2 separate regions of the Homo sapiens genome follow, and region 1 is linked to region 2. Evidence: promoter capture Hi-C in human tissues and cell types (Jung and others, 2019). All regions are on one chromosome and are shown on one strand. The core of a region is centred on a gene start or on the middle of the fragment in contact, and the rest is flanking DNA. Distances in the headings are between cores, read along the strand shown.

Region 1 (4,618 bases), core at 999-3,498, 600 kb before region 2:
CCCCCAACTTGAGCTAGAACTTACAAGGCAAAATTCTAAGGAACAGCAAGCACTGCTGCACGATCAGGGGTAAACAGCTGTTCTTTTAGTCACTTGTAATGAAAATGCTACTACCTCCAATCTGTTAACATAGCTTTATGGATTAGATGAGCAGTCACTTCTTGGTATCCAGGCCCCTTACCTAGTAGTGGGGTAAAAAATAAAGATTGGTTTCTAGTATATCTGGTTTTGAACCTTTCTTGAATGTATAATACGTTATGGCTAGAGAGGTAGCTTAAATACCATAAACATTTACAAGCCCTTTCATAAAAACAGCTTGTTTAAAAGTAGCATTTTATAAGCTATTTCACAGATGTGACTGAATTAACTACTAGTATCCGTGTGCACTTCTCTTATAGCAATGTACTTTTTTTTTTTTGAGACAAGAGTCTCACTGTCACCAGGCTGGAGTGCAGTGGCACGATCTCGGCTCACTGCAGCCTCCGCCTCCGGGGTTCAAGCGATTCTCCTGCCTCAGCCTCTAGAGTAGCTGAGATTACAGGCAAGCGCCACCACGCCCAGCTAATTTTTGTATTTTTAATAGAGGTGGGGTTTCACCATGTTGGCCAGGACGGTCTCAATCTCCTGACTTCGTGATCCGCCCGCCTGGCCAACGTACTTATTTTTTAGTTTTTAGGTATTTGTACCTAGAATGTATGGTCTTTCTAAAACATCAGCTTTTCTCAGAGCTTTATAGTCGGTACGTTTAAGTTCCTATGGCTTCCCTTTCAGACTTTCGCTAAAGCCAAAGCCCTCATTGGCAGTTACCCCTCCATTCTCATCAAGACCTGCAAGTCCTTTCTCATTTCCCTGAAGCTCTTTGGGTAACCTGATGCCCAACATTAGGTCAGGCCAAGTTTCCACGAAAGCCCTTGTCACTTACCAGCTTTGACTACACTCATAGGTGGGGTGGGGTGTGGATTAACATGCAGTGTTTCAGTGCCTATGTGCCAGGCACTATGGACAGGGTAGGCAACAAGGAAATCGCTCTGTCCTCACGAAGACTGCATGAGGATCAATCTATTTTCGGAATAAGATCCCAAACTAGCCATTGGTGGCCTTTTGAGATGTGATTTAAAGGAATAAAACCACTAACATCCTATTTCGCTACTCCCTAAGGTCTATCCATGTTAACTGGAACGGAATCGTACTCAATATTTAACTTTGAAGACACGCGCCAAGTTTAGATACTATGCTATAATTACAACTGATCTTTAAGAACTCATTTAACGCTCTCAAAACTAATTAGGTAATCACTGGTAATCCACCTTGGTCGGAAGAGGCCTGCCTTGTGGCCAGTCGCAACTTGCTTGCTAGGCAGAGGGACAATCGGGAGGGGCTCAAGAGCGCCTCCCCCGCCAGCGCCGTCACTGCAGTGGAAGGCGGTCCTTGGGCACCAGCAAAGGCAAGGCCCATTTTCACATTTCCGCTTGGGGGTGGGGGACACGGAGGGACGTTTGGGGCACATGTATAAATATTCCTACTTTATCCAAATGGAAGATATTTCAAGTGGCAACCCGTCACATCCCAGCAAGTCTCCTTTTATAACATGGCCTCCCGGGATCTACAGGACCGAGCATGGACGGGCTCACACCGCGCCTCGATCCTTGAGAAAAACCCTCAAGCAAACAGCTTCCCAGCTCAGGATGTAAAGCACCCATGCCTGCCAGGGGACAGCTTCCCAGGAAGGCGGTCGCAAGCCCCCGCGAGCGTGCTTCTGGCTCCGGTCTGCGGCGCCCAGGCCAAGCTAGGGCGGAGCCCAACGACTCTCAAGGCGCGGACCTGAGCGCGGCCGCCGAGCACGTGCGTCGGACAGGACAGGGCGCGGCCACATGAGGCGGGCGGGCGGACGCGGGCCCCCTCCCCCAACGGCCTCGCAGCCGCCCCGCCTGCCTTTGTCCGCCGCCGTCCCGGCCTCCTCCCCGCGACTCGCGGACCTCCCAAAATGGCCCCTCGTCAGGAAATGGCGCCGCAGCCCGCCCGCGCTCGCCCCTCAAGCAGGGTCGCCCCGCGCCCGGGCCTTTGGGGCGCTACCACCCACCCCGACCCCGGCCCACTTTCTGGGCCCCATTCCCGCACGCCGCCGCCCGCCCGACCTCAAAGGAGACGCGGCCCAAGGGCTCGCCGTCGACGGCAATGTCGAAGAACACGGTGGGGTTGACCATGGCTAATAGTACACGGTTTTCCTCGGCGGTGGCGTCTGCAAAACGGCACGAGCCTGGCCTCCCGCCCCTTTTATACCACGTTCGGCCCCGCCCGCAACCCGGTCTCGCGCCTCCGTCCCGGCCAATCGGGTCTGCGACTTCGCCAGAGTGACAGTGCATCTGGCCTATAGACGGAAGCCGGCGCTGATGGGGACGACACATGAGGCGCGCGTGCGCGCTAACGCGCGGAGGCAGGTTCCCGCCTGCGGGCTCCGTCGCGGTGGCTGCGGCATGGGACTCGGGGCGGGGCGGCAGTACGGGACGCGGGGCACGGGGGAGGGTCAGTGCGGAACGGGGGTGGGCAGCATGGCGCGCGCACGCGGGAGACGGAAGCGCGGCGGCTCTTCGGCCGTTGTCAAGCGATGAGGCGCGTCTCCCCATTGCACAGAGGGGGCAACTGAGGCGAACGCAGGCCTCAAGGTCGCGCCGCCAGTCAAGGTCGACTGGGGTCCCGCGCCCGGACCCTACGCCTCCGCGAGCGGAAATGGGGATGGCGCGTCCCCGAGACCTAGGAGCAGCCTTGCGTCCGCATTCCGCGCGGGCAAACACCACGTCGCGTCCTACCAGGCAATGTCAGGAAGGAGGTTGCCTTTGAGCATCGCTGTTTTCTCTAACGAGGTGGGACAGGAGCAGTCTCCGGTTTTGAGAGATTATGAAATGCTTTCAAAATGCTCTACTTTCCGAAAATATCTTACACTCTGCTTGAATCTTCTTCAGGAGGAAGCCATTAAAACAGGAGCCTGGCCAGGCTCTTACCTGTGAAGATGCATTATGCACATTTTGCCCTCTTACTCTTTTTGAATCTCTGCTCCTGGTCTTTCCCTGCCCCCGCCCCGCCCAGCTCCTACCGCCCCCGCCTCGGGGCTGAATTGTGCTTTGATTTTTGGGTGAAAGATAAGTCACAATTTAAAAGCGAATTTCTTCAGGCAAAGACATTAATAATACTTTAATTAAAATGCACTTGTAGGCCAGGCGCGGTGGCTCATACCTGGCGCTTTAGGAGGCGCGGAGGCCAAGGCCGGGGAGGATCGCTTCATCTTAGGAGTTCGACACCGGCCACCAGCCTGGGCATCTTAGAGAGACGCCGTCTCTACAAAAAAATAAATAAAAATAAAAATTAGCTGGGCGTCGAGGCGCTCGCTACTCAGGAGGCTGGGCGGGGAGGATTGCTTGAGCCCGGAGGTCGAGGCTGTAGTGGGCGGTGATCGCATCACTGCATTCCAGCCGGGACGACAGAGTGTGACCCTCTCTCAAAAAATAGGCCGGGTGCGGTGGATCACGCCTGTAATTCCAGCACTTTGGGAGGCCGAGGCGGGAGGATCACCTGAGGTCAGGAGTTCAAGACCAGCCTGGACAACATGGTGAAACCCCATCTCTACGAAAAATACAAAATTAGCTGGGCATGGTGGTGCGCACCTGTAGTCCCAGCTACCCCCTCGGGAGGCTGAGGCAGGAGAATCGCTGGAACCCAGGAGGTGGAGGTTGCAGCGAGCAGAGATGGCGCCACTGCACTCCAGCCTGAGAGACAGAGACTCCGTCTCAAATAAATAAACAAAAATATAAAATAAAATGCACTTATGTGACTGGTGTTTTGTTAAGAAAACCTTACAAGGGAATTCATATATCCTGGGCTGTCACTTAAGTTGCAATATTAAGGATATTATTTAATGTTTCTTTTTGTTTTTTTGAGACAAGGTCTCACTCTCACCTAGGCTGGAAGTGCAGTGGTGTGTTATCGGCTCACTGCAACCTCCCCTTCCCGTGCTCGAGCAAGCGTCCCACCTTAGCCTCCCAAGTAGCTGGGACTACAGGCATGCACCCACACCCAGCTCATTTTGTGTGTGTGTGTTTTGTAAAGATGGGGTTTCGCCACATCGCCCAGGCTGGTCTCAAACTCCTGGACTCAAGCGATCCACCCGCCTCAGCCTCCCAAAAGTGCTGGGATTATAGGCGTGAGCTGCTGCACCTGGACGTTGTTTAATGTTTCTAAAACTCAGTTTCTTCATCTGCACAACCAGGATAGGGTTGTGGTGAGACAAAAATGATAATTCATCTGATAGATGAAGTACAGTTTCTGGCCTCTTGCCATTGTTAATAACCATGAGCCAACGTGTTAGGAATTTATTTATTTGAGATAGGGTCTCACTCTGTTGGTTAGTCTGGAGTGCAGTGGTGCAATCCTAGCTCACTGTAACCTCGAACTCTTGGACTGAAGCATTCCTCCCTCCTCAACCTCCCAAATGTCTGGGACTAAAGGCACAAGCCACTGTGCCAGCTAATTTAAATTTTTTTAACAGAAACTGGTTCTGGCTGTGTTATCAGGGCTGGTCTCAAACTCCAGGGCTTAAAGGATTCTCCCACCTTGGCCTCCCAAA
Region 2 (3,990 bases), core at 1,261-3,760:
AAAAAGCTGGGAAACTACTTTTTCAACTTTGGAATCGGGTAATTATAGGGCACAAAGGACGTAAGTAAAGCGGTCTTATAAGAAAACAAGCTCAGGCCGGACGTGGTGGCTCAAGCCTGTAATCCTAGCACTTTGGGAGGCCAAGGCAGGCGGATCACTTGAGCTCAGGAGTTCGAGACCAGCCTGGCTAACATGGTAAAACCCCATCTCTACTAAAAATACAAAAATTAGCCGGGTGTGGTGGTGCGCGCCTGTAATCCCAGCTACTTGGGAGGCTGAGGCAGGAGAATCACTTGAACCCAGGAGGCGGAGGTTGCAGTGAGCTGACACTGTGCCACTGCACTCCAGCCTGGGTGACAGAGCAAGACTCCATCTAAAATAAAATAAATAAATAAATAAATCAGCTGGGACATGTGTTGTTTTAAGACATATTAGTAGAGATGTCCCTTTAGTGTTGCAGCTGTTAGTCATTGGAAACTAGTGTGGGCATCCCAAGCAGGTGAGGTATAAGTCCTACAAGTGAAATCTCTGAGAATCTTAAGTACTAATGGGAAGGAAAAAGGAAAAAGAATCAGAGCCAAGTTGGCACCAAAAGTTCCATCTGAGAAAAGCAACAACACAGAGCAGTGAATGTAGGCCATGGTAAAGACTGCAAAGACCAAGAACCCCAAGAAGGAGCTAAAAGATAATGCAGCAATTCCGCTTCTGGGTAAATACCAAAAAAATGCGAGCAGGGTCTTGAAGAGATATTTGTACATCCATGTTCATAGCAGTATCATTCACAATGGCTGAAATGTGGAAGCAACCCAGGTGTCCACTGACAGATGAACAGATAAGCAAAATGTGGTGAATAATACAATGGATTATTCAGCCTTAAAAAGGAAAGAAATTCTGATATATGCAACAAGATGCATGAGCCTTGAGGACATTATGCTACATGAAATAAGCCAGACACACAAAAACTATATGATTCCATTTATCTAAGGTCGCCAGAAAAGTCAAAATCACAGAGACAAATTAGAATGGCAGTTGCCATGGGCTGGGGGAGAAGGGAATGTGTTTAATAGACACGAATTTGATAAAAAGGAGTTCTGGAGACGATTGACAGTGATGGCTGCACAACACTATCAATCTATTTCATATCAATGCACTCACTACACGCTTAAAGATAGTGAAGATAAATTTTGTGTACCATTTTACCACAATTAAAAATATTTTTTTAAAAGAACTCAAAGAAGCAGAAAGTTTCAACAAAATAACATTTTTTTTTTTTTACATCCAGCAAGTCCTTGGCAAAGAACTCTCATCAAGAACCAGCTGCACTGAAGCAGGGAAAACAGAATCCAAACGGCAGATTCCATCAGATTTTGAGACAAGATGACCATAGATACCGACCATGTAGGGTCCTCCTTCTTTCGTGCCTGAGTCACCCCAATCCCTCCCACGAATGGTCTGGAAGTGTCTGTGTTACTTCTAACACGTTCCAGCAATTAAAGCGCCCCAGAAACAAGTAAAAGCCTGTAAGCCCTACAGATCCCATGCTTCATTTGCATCTTCCGTGTGGAATCCTTTTGTACCACTAGTGTCCAACTAAAAAGCGTTAAACCTGGCTTTCAGTTCTAGCTGGTTGTGATATAACCTCTTGGTACCTCAGTGACTTCACCCATTAAAAACAAACAAAAAAAAGTATATCACTATCTCTCATACAGAATTGTTGGGAAGCCCCGCAAGAAAATCAAAATATGGCTCTCAAGATGCGGCACCCAAGCTCCCAGAGTCAGAATCACTGGGTGGGAAGTGTTGGTCTAAAATATAAATACCGAGGCCTCAATCTACTAATTCAGAACATCTTGGCATGAAGCTTGGAAATCTGCACTACTTCACAGTCTCCTTAAAATTTTTACACGACAGAAATTTGAAAAACACTGAGTAGAGAACTATATTCTAGAATGGTATAAGCTCTTAAAGAGCTAATGTTGGTTCCTCAAAGGTAGAGTCCACGGCCAGATTCCATTATAGGAGACCAAGCCCGGACAGCAGACCCCGGGCCCTCCCCACCCCGCCCCGCCTCTGACTCGGACACCAGCCTTCTCAGACCCCGGGCACTCGGCCACCCCGCCCTGCCCCTACCCTTGGCCTCCTCCACCCTCCCCTCATCCCTCCGCCGACCCCAGGCCCACTCCGACTCGGACCCCCACCCCAGTCCTCTCCGCCCGACCGCCACGGCCCACCAGCCTGTGCCGCTCACCTGGATCTCTGGAAAAAGCTGAAGGAAGACACATCGTATGCGGCTTTGAGCAGCACCACCTTGGCCTCGCCTTTGTAGAGGACGCTGAGGCTGTACAGCTTCATGGCTCCGCGCCCTCAGGCCGCCCGCCTGCCCAGCTGCGGGACCCGTTCTCAGGGAGCAGCGCGGCCGCCGCCCCTCGGGACCGCCGCCGCCTACCGGCCTCTCAGCAGCCGGCTGCTGACGGGGCCACCGCCGGCTTCCTCCTCCTGGCTCGCAATCCACTTCCGGATCCGGTCAGCCTGGTTGAGGGTTCTCATACTCCGGATGCAGAAATGTGAGCCCGGAAGTACAATGCAGCGAGGGGCGGGATGCCACGCCTCGCGTAAGCTTGGCCCCTCCCTGCTCGCCAGGTGGAGTCGGGCGCGCGGCGGGATACCGTACTGTCTTGTGCTGGGTGGTGCTGGGCCTCCCACAGCGGCCTGAACCCTTCTTTTTTTTTTTTTTCTTTTCTTTCTTTTTTTAAAGTAAGCATTTTTTTTATTATTATACTTTAAGTTTTAGGGTACATGTGCACAACGTGCAGGTTTGTTACATATGTATACATGTGCCATGTTGGTGTGCTGCACCCATTAACTCGTCATTTAGCATTAAGTATATCTCCTAATGCTATCCCTCCCCCCTCCCCCCACCCCACAACAGTCCCCGGTGTGTGATGTTCGCCTTCCTGTGTCCATGTGTTCTTATTGTTCAATTCCCACCTATGAGTGAGAACATGCGGTGTTTGGTTTTTTGTCCTTGCAATAGTTTGCTGAGAATGATGGTTTCCAGCTTCATCCATGTCCCTACAAAGGACATGAACTCATCATTTTTTATGGCTGCATAGTATTCCATGGTGTATATGTGCCACATTTTAGGAGGAGCTTGTACCATTCCTTCTGAAACTATTCCAATCAAAAGAAAAAGAGAGAATCCTCCCTAACTCATTTTATGAGGCCAGCATCATCCTGATACCAAAGGGTGGCAGAGAGAGACACAACAAAAAAAGAATTTTAGACCAATATCCTTGATGAACATTGAAGCAAAAATCCTCAGTAAAATACTGGCAAACCGAATCCAGCAACACATCAAAAAGCTTATCCACCATGATCAAGTGGGCTTCATCCCTGGGATGCAAGGCTGGTTCAACATACGAAAATCAGTAAACGTAATCCAGCATATAAACAGAACCAAAGACAAAAACCACATGATTATCTCAATAGATGCAGAAAAGGCCTTTGACAAAATTCAACAACCCTCATGCTAAAAACTCTCAATAAATTAGGTATTGATGGGACGTATCTCAAAATAATAAGAGCTATCTATGACAAACCCACAGCCAATATCATACTGAATGGACAAAAACTGGAAGCATTCCCTTTGAAAACTGGCACAAGACTGGGATGCCCTCTCTCACCACTCCTTTTCAACATAGTGTTGGAAGTTCTGGCCAGGGCAATCAGGTAGGAGAAGGAAATAAAGGGTATTCAATTAAGAAAAGAGGAAGTCAAATTGTCCCTGTTTGCAGATGACATGATTGTATATCTAGAAAACCCCATCGTCTCAGCCCAAAATCTCCTTAAGCTGATAAGCAACTTCAGCAAAGTCTCAGGATACAAAATCAATGTGCAAAAATCACAAGCAGTCTTATACACCAATAACAGACAGAGAGCCAAATCATGAGTGAACTCCCATTCACAATTGCTTCAAAGAGAATAAAATAC

What was found. The method cuts DNA at HindIII sites, captures the fragments that hold promoters and counts their contacts. A contact is called where the count stands out against the background at its distance.
Region 1: a contact is called between the fragment with the promoter of PPIA here and the fragment with the promoter of YKT6 in region 2, in 1 of the 25 tissues and cell types used here (spleen).

The regions. Positions count from the first base shown.
Region 1 is chr7:44,794,311-44,798,928 of GRCh38, reverse strand. It overlaps PPIA (peptidylprolyl isomerase A), which reads right to left and starts at 2,248. Exons shown (of 5, transcript NM_021130.5): 1 at 2,136-2,248. The coding sequence starts at 2,204. LOC105375259 (a long non-coding RNA gene) reads left to right here and starts at 2,399. Exons shown (of 2, transcript XR_007060300.1): 1 at 2,399-2,861; 2 at 3,505-3,813. RefSeq lists silencers at 1,778-2,127, 2,148-2,417, 2,508-2,707. The HindIII fragment of the contact is 11,905 bases long and covers 1-4,618 here.
Region 2 is chr7:44,199,498-44,203,487 of GRCh38, reverse strand. YKT6 (YKT6 vesicular SNARE protein) reads right to left here and starts at 2,510. Exons shown (of 7, transcript NM_006555.4): 1 at 2,249-2,510. The coding sequence starts at 2,352. RefSeq lists a silencer at 2,334-2,403. The HindIII fragment of the contact is 4,070 bases long and covers 1-2,990 here.